Linked DNA regions of Homo sapiens: region 1 is linked to region 2. The links are contacts of gene promoters, found by promoter capture Hi-C in human tissues and cell types (Jung and others, 2019). All regions are on one chromosome and are shown on one strand. Each heading gives the region's core, a stretch centred on a gene start or on the middle of the fragment in contact. The rest is flanking DNA. Distances are from core to core; before and after follow the strand shown. Region 1 overlaps LGR5 (leucine rich repeat containing G protein-coupled receptor 5). Region 2 holds the start of TBC1D15 (TBC1 domain family member 15).

Evidence for each region. The method cuts DNA at HindIII sites, captures the fragments that hold promoters and counts their contacts. A contact is called where the count stands out against the background at its distance.
Region 1: a fragment that was not itself captured here is called in contact with the fragment with the promoter of TBC1D15 in region 2 in 1 of the 25 tissues and cell types used here (liver).

The regions. Positions count from the first base shown.
Region 1 is chr12:71,445,171-71,450,778 of GRCh38, reverse strand. All of the region lies in intron 1 of LGR5 (leucine rich repeat containing G protein-coupled receptor 5), which reads right to left. LOC124902962 (a long non-coding RNA gene) reads left to right here. Exons shown (of 3, transcript XR_007063364.1): 1 at 1-22. Among named protein-coding and RNA genes, the nearest start is that of LGR5, 8.2 kb to the right of the region's middle. The HindIII fragment of the contact is 4,341 bases long and covers 2,096-5,608 here.
Region 2 is chr12:71,836,781-71,842,341 of GRCh38, reverse strand. It overlaps TBC1D15 (TBC1 domain family member 15), which reads right to left and starts at 2,583. Exons shown (of 17, transcript NM_001146213.3): 1 at 2,531-2,583. The coding sequence starts at 2,560. The HindIII fragment of the contact is 9,599 bases long and covers 1-4,435 here.

The DNA of each region.
Region 1 (5,608 bases), core at 3,017-5,516, 390 kb after region 2:
GCTACAGTCATCCAGGAAAAAAGTGAGTAGACCCTGGACTAGTGCAATGTCACTGCTAGAAGAGAAAGAGAACAGTTAGAAGAGACATTAAGGCAACCAAAATGTGATCAAATAAAGTCATAAATGAAATTTTAATTACAATAATCACATATTTAACTACTATGAACAGAGGCTGGGCCTGGTGGCTACTGCCTATAATCCCAGCACTTTGGAAGGCTGAGGTGGATAATTACTTGAGGCCAGGAGTTCGAGACCAGCCTGGGCAACATAGCCATACTCCCATTTTTACCAAAAAAAGAAAAAAGAAGTAAATGACAACTATGAACAGACATTTGGGGAATTAATTATGCTTAATTATTCTTCAAACTAAATCTGAGTGTTCCTTTTTGCTCTGCAGATTTTTAGGTAATACAGAGACACTGTGTCTGTATTTACAGTGGATCAAAATAAGATGATATTGTTAAAATTCAGGTATATATCTAGATATGGACATACACAACATGTGTAAACAACGGGCTATTTGGCAACATCTGGAAAAGTAACTGGGAGTTTTTGAGTTCATTCGAGTATTTGACATTGAAATATAAAGGTGACCAAGAAGTAGTACTGGGCTGGGGTTTTCAGGAGATCTGGAGTCCAATTCTGTCTTTGCTAGCTGCGTGATTTTCAGAATGTCATTAACCCCTTATGAATATAAAATTTCATCATCTATGAAATAAAGACGTTGGATTAGGTAAATTCCAAGGTTCTTCCCATTCTAAATTCCCTGGGTAGCCATAGCTTTTGATGCACTGAAATCCTTTGTAACCCATCTAAGTGATTTTAATTCTGTTTATTTGGGCAATTAGGGTAATGCTCTAGCAATCACGATTAAATTTCAGTCTTGCATTGTGTAATGTGACCTTAGATATACAGCTTAGTCATTCTGGTAATTTGTGGATAAAAGATTGTCCTTTTAGTTCTTCACAGAACTTACTCTAAATGTAGTTAGGTATTAGCTCAAGCTCTAAATTAAGTTTATTATAATTAACATAAATCTCCCCAAATTTGCTTTCCTTTGTAATATACAACTAATTATATTCTGAAATGTTCATACAGCTAAGGCAAAGAGGGCTTCAAATTACTATGTAGTAGTCATTCAGGACCAGAACATATCTACCTAACACTTATGACTATCAGACTCTAGGGAAGTAGATGTTTTCCTGGAAGGCCAGCAGCTGGGAGGTGGAAGGTGGACACTTGCTGTCAGTTAATCATGCCGCTAGACCTTTTAAGATCTTCAAATGAGATATGCTCACATCCTGGGAGAATCTGGTTTAACTAGGATTTCCTTTTGCTACCCAAGCTTGAAGACTCAATAAAAAAAGATCTTGAACTTCCTCCTGTACTATATTGCACTGAGTCCCAGAGAACAACAGCTGCTGAAGAACAGGGGCTGCGCATGAGTTAAGATCTTCCACCACAGGAACAGTAATGTAGCTTTTCCAAATTAAAATCAGAGACCCCAATTTTGGTGACTGGAGTTGATACTTAAATCCCAAGGACTCTTTTTTCTAAACTTCCCTTCATCTTCTAGTTTGACGCCCTTGGTGGGAAAAGTGTCTGAGATAAGGAAAAGGCATCCTTTCAGTTCTCTGATACTATCTTGAAGCGAGGGATGGAGAAAGGCAAAGAGAGACACAGGAGAAGCGTATCCCCTGGGAACAGGTGTCTAGTGGAGTCCAGTAACTCACAGTCTCTCAGTTCCGTCAGCACTGTCCCTTGGGTCGCAAATTTCTTCCATTAGCCCTTCCACCTCTCTTGCCATTCTTTTTCTAGGCTTTTCTCTATTGTACAGTTAACACTGTAACAATGATAGAGTAGGCCTATTGCCAAATGCAGGCATGTCTGCTAAGGGTCCCTTCAGGACAGGAAGTACAAAGACAAAATAAAGAGGAAGATCCTTTATTCTCAGTCTTTACTAGAAGACTCCAAATTCACTTTGTAGATTCACTCAACAAATACTGTGAAATAAATGTTTATTGTGAAAACTTCAATATATATACAAAATAGTTCATTAAGGAATATAACATCTTCTATGGAAATTTTTATTTGGTTTTCATAATCACATAATAACAACCATATATGTAAAAAACTGAAAGGTTGTATTTTGTGCGGATAGATTTAAAGACCAATTGATTATGTAACAGAGTTCCTTCAAGTAAGTGCCTCACGAGAAAATTTATAACCTAAAACCTTCAAGCACCATGTGGTGTTTTGTGCATCGAACCAATAAACTCATTAAAATAACATTGCATCAACCCAAACACAACACATTGGAAGTTCTAACACAGCCCACATTAACCAACCAACTTTAAAATAATATCCTTGTTATGTACTAAGGTTAAAAATTCAGCAAATTCTTTATATTTTTTCCACTTGAGATCATGTGTGGTTTTCTACTTTCCTGAGAAGTACACTTTTGTGGCTTTTTTGATTAAAGAAAGGTTATTTTTACAAATCGACATCTTTTGTAGAGGTCTCTGCTCCACTTAATCAAGGTTTCAAGAAAAAAGGAGAACAAAAGTATTTACCAGTGTTTCAGTGAAACTTAAAAATTCTAAGGTTATTTTCTCAGTGTAGGCTTTGAAAAGAAGGCACGCATGTAAGGTTAGTCACCACAGTTTGTGTGTGTGTGTGTGTGTGTGTGTGTGTTTGTGTGTGTGTGAGGGAGACGAGGAGGAAGGGGGAAATAAAGGAATTTGGCTGCAAACTGAGGAACAGTTTGAAACACTTGGCTTCTAGTTGTGAAAGATGAGCAACACGGAAAAAAGGACAGGCTAACAAGGGACCACTTGAGGAAAGCTTAATTTCGCCTGGCAGGCTGAGGAGGGAGGTCAGCTCCATGCACGCGTTCTCAGCTGGAGTTGGGCTCCCTTTGCCAGGACGATTGTCTTCTGCATTTCAGTTTCTGAACCGAACTGAAGGTGCCTTCAAGCAGCCAGTTCCACAGTCTCTCCCTTGTAAAGGGTCGGCCCTTCACGGCTATGCCCTGCCAATGTTTGTATCATTTCTGCCAAGCAAGTGGCACAAAGGGAATTGTTTCTTGTTGGTGTGTGTATTAGTGTGCACGAGACACTTTCTTCCCCCTTGGCCATCACAGTCCTTGTTTGAAGAAGAAGCAAACACTCCTTCTGAAGGCAAGAAGGATAAAATGAGTGTGTGGAAAATGTGCATATAGAAAAAATAGGACATTTGAAAATTAGAGATTGTTGAATAAATTGTTAAGTCAGTAAAAAGCTGGAGTATGAGAGTACTATTTTAAAACATTCTAGAGACTGTACCCCAAACATATCCTAATTTTTCTAAACATCAGTACTGTTTTTTCTGTTGACTTTGTAATACAATAAATGATTAATGTATATCAGGTTAATAAGCTGAATCAAGGGACTGAGGAAATTAAATGCATAGTTCAGAAAAGGTTTTTCATTATTTGAAGGAGGGGACTTTTCTATGACTTATGCAGATTTCTAATTGACACATAAGTCTGTATCACTAATTGTCAAAGCATGCAAAGTTTAAAAATATGTTGGGGGATTTGATAAAACTTTGAAACAATTTTCTATTGTGAATCAAATGAATAACATTCTGATACCTTCGTGACAACAATGTATCGCATCTCATCCATTTTAAAGGTGAATACAAGCTCAAATAGAATTTGCCTGTTAAGAAAGTTCATGTCTGTCTGAACTGAGAAATAGTTCCAAAGAATGCAGCTACTTAATTTGACACATAGATCTGGTTATAGGAAAAAAGTTTTATTCTTGCCTAGGTGGTTACTAATCTATTGATCCCTCTTCACAATACTCTGGCAGCTACTGCAACTTATCTCTGATTTGAAGACAAGAAAAATTGTTTCTGTGGTAGTAAGAAAATGGATATATAAAAAGATGTCTACTAAATTTGTAATATTGGCCCTAAACTATATAATGTAATGCTCACATTATTGGAAAATTGAAAACTGCATTTTGCTCTGGAATTCCCTGAAAAAATATTTCTGGTATTAGGGCTTCATAAATTGTGTTCCTGAAAAGAAAAATGGGCCAAAACATTTCAGCACCAATTAAAATGATTACAAGGCATAAGTATAAATTGGAAAGCCTGTTTTCTTGGGTTGCTGTAAACTGGCCCTGAAGATAACTTCAAAGGAAATCCAAAAATATTTTGAGCAATGGAAATACTTGAAATAAGCTTACAGTAAGCTTACCTAATAAGAGGTACTATTATCATTCCTAACGTCACAAGTTGCCCCACCACAAGGGGGGTATTGACTGAGTAAAGTATTTAGTATCTTTGTGGGGCCTATGACTGAGTGAAGTATTTAGTGCCGAACACTTAGGAAACACAATACAACTATCAGTTATTATGACTATTGCTATTACAATAATAAAGTAATTTATACATGTAAATCATGGCATGTGTTAAAATAAACAACTCATTGCATCATTTAAACTGAACACAATTCAGCTGTATTTCAAATGGGGCTGGACAATAATTGTGGCCAGTGGCCTTGTGTTGTTTGTACTTGCGGACTAGTAGTTCTCACCTGTCTTTCTCTGACTCCTATTAGCCACTGGGATTTCAGCAGCTGGTTCAGCCAATTCTACTCAATTCAACATTACTGGTATTTACTGAACTCCCTTAAGAGCCAGGCATTGGTATGGGCACTTGGGGTATAAAGTGGAAAATGCCCTACCCTGGAGGAGCTCACAGCCAAAGAAGAAGAATAAGCCCTGAAGGAAAGAGCCCACCATGAAACCCTAGGGTGTTATTCCATCTGACTTTCAGGAAGTTGTTTACACGGTCAGGAGTTGGTTCCTTTGCATACTCTCCAAGTAAATCTCAGCGTCTCCAATTCCAGACTTAAACATTAAAAAGAGAAGTAATACATGAGGATATACGGAAGCACTTCTGCTTATGAAACATCTTTTGAATAGTTTTCCACTAATGCTAACATCCTGTTAAGAGCCTTTTAGCATTACCACTAGATACATTATTCCATTTCTTGAAATCAAATGACTAACGTTTTTCTCCGTTCCAGTTTCAAGCCAGGCATTCCCATTGGGCTTAATCCATTAAACAGAAAAATGCCACAGATTTTAGGAACGGACCTGCTTCCCACCATATAACTTATGGATAACAAAATCAGTTTTGAATTATGAGAATTTAATTAAAAATTCCACATTATAGACTATGAAATGTCTCCTTTTGGCATAGAGTTCCATAGGTGAAATTGGGCATGTAGTTGGTTATTTACAATGGTTAAATTAAAGTGTGGATTAAAGCTGACAGATCTGGGAATGAAAGAGTTGCAGTGGGCTAGAACTCATGGGCCGATTTAACAAGTGAAATTCTACCAAGATACATCAAAAATAGCAACAGGACTAGATACTCAGCTCATTTTGTTTTATTTGTAATATACCAGTTGTGGCTTTAGTGCCAGTCTGATTCATCTCTCTACTACAAAATGAGGCTCTATAAAGGAAAATATTGCAACTGGAGTGAGGAATTTGAATCTTATAGGAAGGAATTTGTCTTCTCATGAAGACTTCAGTTTACCAGAAGTATC
Region 2 (5,561 bases), core at 1,334-3,833:
ACAGAGAGGTTAAGTAATTTTACTGAAGTCGCTTGTAAATGTGTGGAGATAATTTCTGAAACTAGTTTGGTTTCAGAGACCAAGCTCTTAACCATTACCTTTTGCTGCTTCCCTACAAGACAGAGATTAACTTCCTCCATCACTTTCCGAAACTCCAAGTTCAAAGCAAGTAGAGTTTTAAGAAAAGTTACATCCTAGGTGGAGACACTGAGAGACTCTAATTCAACAGAGCTGGTAGCCCACCATCTGTACTTTTATTAAAAAGTATCACGAGTGATTTTTGTGAGCCTTGGTTAACATTCACTCCCCTGGATTTCTAAACTAGAACTCTTAGCTAAAACTTGAAGGGAGAGGGGAGATGAATAAATAAACACACACACACATTTTCTCCCCATCCCCTTTCCTAAAGAAAAAAGATTAGGAAGTAGGGAAGCATAAAGGTATCATGTCTTTTTATGTTACATTAACCAGCTTTCATTATTATTATTATTATGCTGACGATAAAAAAGTGAAGAGTTTTCATTTGCTTTTTAAATCAAGAGATTATCAGGTTTGCGCATTAGAAAAATAACTCCAGTGGTGGTGTAGAGAAGATTAAGGGCAGAGACTGTAGAAAAGGAGTAAAATCAGCCAAGAAATCAAGAATAGAAGCAGACTAAAAGCCTGAACTATGCGCTGATAGTAAAGAAGATGCAGTAAATTTAAGAAACCTCTTAAGGTAAAACTGGTAGGACATGGTTATTGATTAGAGAGTGTTATAGGAATGAATGCCTCCAAGTATGTTTAACATGCAACCAGGTGAAAGATGATGCCATTAAACCAGATCTGAACTTACTGAGAGAAGAACAAGTGGGTTTTGTTGGTCATGATAGTATTACTTGGGAGAGGAGCAGCTTTTGGCATGGAAAACTAGTTTCAGTGGAGTGATGGCAATAGATGTGAATTTGCAGTGAATGAGAATAAATGAGGTTATGAAGCAGAATTACTAAATATAAGTCTCACTTTAAGAAGTCAGACTATGAAAGGTAGTGGCTGCAAAGAGTGAAAAATGTTTTTCATTTCACAACTCTGCTTCATTGCCTCAAGGATTCTTTCAAAATCAATCCAAACCTGAAAGAGGGAGATGTTTAAACGGAAGGGATCCCCTCTTGAAAAGTCCCAGCCTGGATCAGTTTAGATGGAAAATCAAACAGGATAATCTTCAAATACGCAGTAAGTCAAGCAGTATATCAGCATCCACCCTGAATATAAAAAGAAAAAAACTGACAAGACAACCAAGGAGCACGAATAATCCAAAAAAGGATGCCCACCTATCCTTTAAAAGAGCCAGTAGGTACAAGTGTGTAATTTTATGTTTTTTTAAAAAAAAATTTATATAACCCTAACAACTCCAATACAAGAAATAATGATTGGCATCTCCTCCATTCTACAGATAAAGAACGCGAAAAGACAAAAGTCACAATTGCCCAATTTTCCAAGGTCATACTTCAGATTAACAGCAAAACCAAGCCCATATTTGTCATTCAGCCGCCTAGTCTAATACTCCAAACACCAAACCACAAACGCTGTCAAATAATTCAAAATGGGGTAGGGAAAGCAACAGGGAGACATGAGTGAAACTCAAGGAACAGAGGACGCTATCTGCAATGAGTAAACAACCATTAGTGTTCGATGAGTCACTTCAGTTGATTCCAGCTGTTTATGAAATACTCCTGCACTGGGAAATACTATCGGTGGCATATCATAAAGCTGATAGCCCTAACTATGCATAAGATGTGCCCTCGGAACGCGAATAGGCACTATTCGACGAAATCTCCGCACGTAATTCTAGTTTCCAACGAAATTAGGCGTGTCACTGACCACCTCCGTAAACCAGCATGACCAATACTCCTACTGAAATGCCTAGGAAATAAATATTTGGACGCCTTCCTAGACAAGCACAGGATGGTGTAAATCTCCATTTCTCTCAGGAAACACGTCCTGCTGCTCACAACCACCAACCAACTCAGCAGCTTGGTAAAAACAGACCCAATACACTCGTTTCTTCTAAGCGCACAGCTAGCTGCCTAGCATCTATTCAGCTCCTCCCGAAGGAAGCATAAACATCTTCACCAAACTGTAGCAAAGAAGACAGAGGCAAGTCGGGTTAACGCTTCAAAGAGAGAAAAGACGCTGGAGTCAGAAGAGTAGACATAAAGAACTAGAGTCAAGAAACAGTGAATCGGGGGAAAAAAGGAACTAGAGAGCCACCTGTCCCTTAGTAAAGGTAATACGAATAAAAGCCTCTCTGCTCTGGGGCAGAAGAGCGCCGAGGCCTAGCTGGCCTTGGAGCAGTAGCCGGCTCTATAACTCCGCGGCTGAACTGGCATTCTCGGGAAACCAGCTGGTACCACCCAGTCTTCTCCTACAGACGCCACGGGTTGTCCGGACACAGAAAGTCCCTCGTGTCCCTCCCCCAACCAGCTGCCAGGGAGCAAAAGCATCCCCGTCCCAGAGAAAAGCCGAGGTCTTCCTGGAGGCCGTTACCTACCTTCCCGCTCACAACACCCGCCGCCGCCATGTTTCCTGCGCGTGCCTGGTAATGACGTAGCAGAACCTCACGTGTCTCTCGGACATACAACAACATCCGGCAAAACTAGAATAACATCCGGGCGGGAAAAGGGCGGGGAGTGGCGGGAAGGGAGTGGAGGAAAGGAGCCGGGCGGAAAAAAGCCGCCTGACGCGTGCGTGCTGAACTGGGCTCAGAGACGGCTGGGGTGGAGTCTCAGGCCTAACGCTACGCTTGTGCTTGCCCCACGTCCTCCCCAAGGAAGACTGCTAAAATAATGTGTACCTTACTTGTATTGGAGTTTGTCGAGACTCTGAAGCTAGCGCAGGCCACGCCAGTTTGGTGAGATGAAACGAATACCATACTGGAAGCCAGCAAGATTTGTCCTGGTTTTTTGTTGTTGTTGTAGAAAAGGAGTCTCGCTCTGTCGCTCAGGCTGGAGTGCAGTGGCGCGATCTCGGCTCATTGCAGCCTCCGCCACTCGGTTCAAGCGATTCTCAAGCCTCAGCCTCCCGGGTAGCTGGGATTACAGGCGCGCGTCAAACGCCCAGCTAATTTTTAAATTTTTATTAGAGACGAGATTTCGCCAATGTTGCCCAGGCTGGTCTCGAACTCCTGACTTCAGGTGATCCGTCCGCTTCAGCCTTTGCCCAGAGAGCTGGGATTACAGGCTTGAGCCACCGCGCCCAGCCCATTAGCCTGGTTTTGTGGCAGTAGGCAAATCACCAGTGCACTCGAAACCTCAGTTTCTTATAGTAAAATCAAGATAGTGGCGTTGCGGTGAAGATCCAAGAAAGAGCAGCACTAACATGGAGATATCCCAGGCACTATACATGGAGACTTTTCCCCTCTGTATATGAGGTTTCTCTATTTGTCTGGTCACTGCCACTCACACATGACCTCCAGCAAGGTATTTCGATAGGAACTGTGATAATACCACGCCCTCATAGCTGCAGAGCCCAAGGCACATAGTTTATAGCACCTACACATTACTTATTAGCTCTGTGACTTAAAGCAGGTTTCTAAATTTATCAGAGCTTCAGGATGTAAACTGGGAATTACTCCTGCATGGAGTGGTTGTAGGGATTTCATACGACAATACATGTGTGGTAAAATGATTTGTAAAGATACTAAGGTAAGAATTTTACTTGTTCTCAGTGCTGTAAAAGAATGCAGAGAATGATTATATACTACCCCCTTGATAACTCTGGCACAGATCTGGGATTTCCCTAGCTCCGGGGCAGAATAAAAAGTCCCTTTCACCAAAAACACTTGTGTCCATTGAGGTACTTCCGTCTTCACACAGTGGAGAGGGGTTAGAGGCTTTTGAGTTTGGTTGAGGTAGGTGGCAACTAGCTGAACGACAGAAAAGGAGAGTTGCCGGTTATGTGACTACCAGGAACCTAATAGGTGAGGAAAGTGGTGGAACCTTAGGTGGGAATGAATGCGTAGCATATTAGGGAGATTGCGTGCTAGGTATCTGAGATTCCAACCATGACCAAGACCCTTATGCCCAAGCTTGGCAGGGAATCAAGAAAGCAGCTCACCTACAAGGGATGAATGAGGTGGGAAAATGAGAATATTAGCAGTAATCAGCATTGAGTGAAGACTAGAGGGCCTTTTCCAAATGTACTGGACTGAGACTAAGACCCCTAGAACCTTCATATAATCTTGGGTGTGGAGTGGAAAATCCTACTGATGACCCAAATTACATTTTCCACCAGCTCAGAGCATTGGGATGTGGTTAGAGAAAAATTTTAATGTGACATCACATTTCTTACACCCTGTGTTTTAGAGAAAATTTGAAGCCCTTAGCACAGTGCCAGGAATAAAAGGCTCAATAAATGTAGTTATTACTTATATTTTAAAATATAAGTTTGAGAACTACAGGCTTCTCATTGAAAAGCATCATTGGCATCTCAGGTTCATCTGCTACTTCTTGACCTTCTTAAATTTCATCCTACAAGTGTGCCTTAAATAATGGCGCTACCCATGGGCTGGCCTTGGGCCTCTCTTCCTTTTTCTCCAAACACTATTCCTGGGCCGTTATCCTCATATTCTGGCATCAAAATCTCCTATGTACTGATGACTCCCAAATATTCCCAGCCCAAGTCTCTCTTTCCTAAACTCTAGTCCCTGTGTCCACTGCCACTGGACTTCTGACTTGAGTGAGCTAATCATACATCAAAAAAGTATAAGCCTTTACTACTCAAAGTGTATGTGTACAGACCAGCAGCACCAGCATCAGTTGAAAGCTTGTTAGAAATGCAGAATCTAACTGGGCACGGTGGCTCATGCGTGTAATCCCAGCACTTTGGGAGGCCAAGGCAAGCGGATTACTTGAGGCCAGCAGTTCAAGACCAGCCTGGCCAACATGGTAAAACCCTGTCTCTTCTAAAAATACAAAAATTAGCCTGGCGTGTTGGTGCATGCCTGTAGTCCCAGCTGCTCAGGAGGCTGAGCCAGGAGAATCACTTGAACCTGGGAGGCAGAGGTGGAGGTTGCCGTGAGCCAAGATCATGCCACTGCACTCCACCCTGGGCAACAGAGCTAGACTCTGTCAAAAAAGAAAAGAAAAGCAAAGCAGAATCTCAGATCCCATCCCAGAACTACAGAAAAATCTGCATTTTAACAAAAGCCCTGATTTGTGTGTACATTAAACTTTGAGATGCATAGTCTTAAGTGAAACTTTATTTTGCTTTTGTTCTCTGAAAATTAGTACACTTTGCTGAACAAGAGATGTAGCTAGAACAGTTTCTCAAGGAAGTGTTGCTATCATGTGTTACAAATTAATTTGAATCAATTCTCCCATTTAGGAATGGCACAGTTATACATTAATAGAGGAAATAGACCTATTTTCCTTCTTCAATGATATCCTCTGTCTATATGCAAAGGGAAAAAACAAGGTCAGGATTTCAGAAGGGGTTAGTTTCAGGTTTTAATTTTTTACTTTATTAGAGGGAATGATCAGAGTACACTTACATATAGCAAGTGGACAGATTGTTTTAAAGCA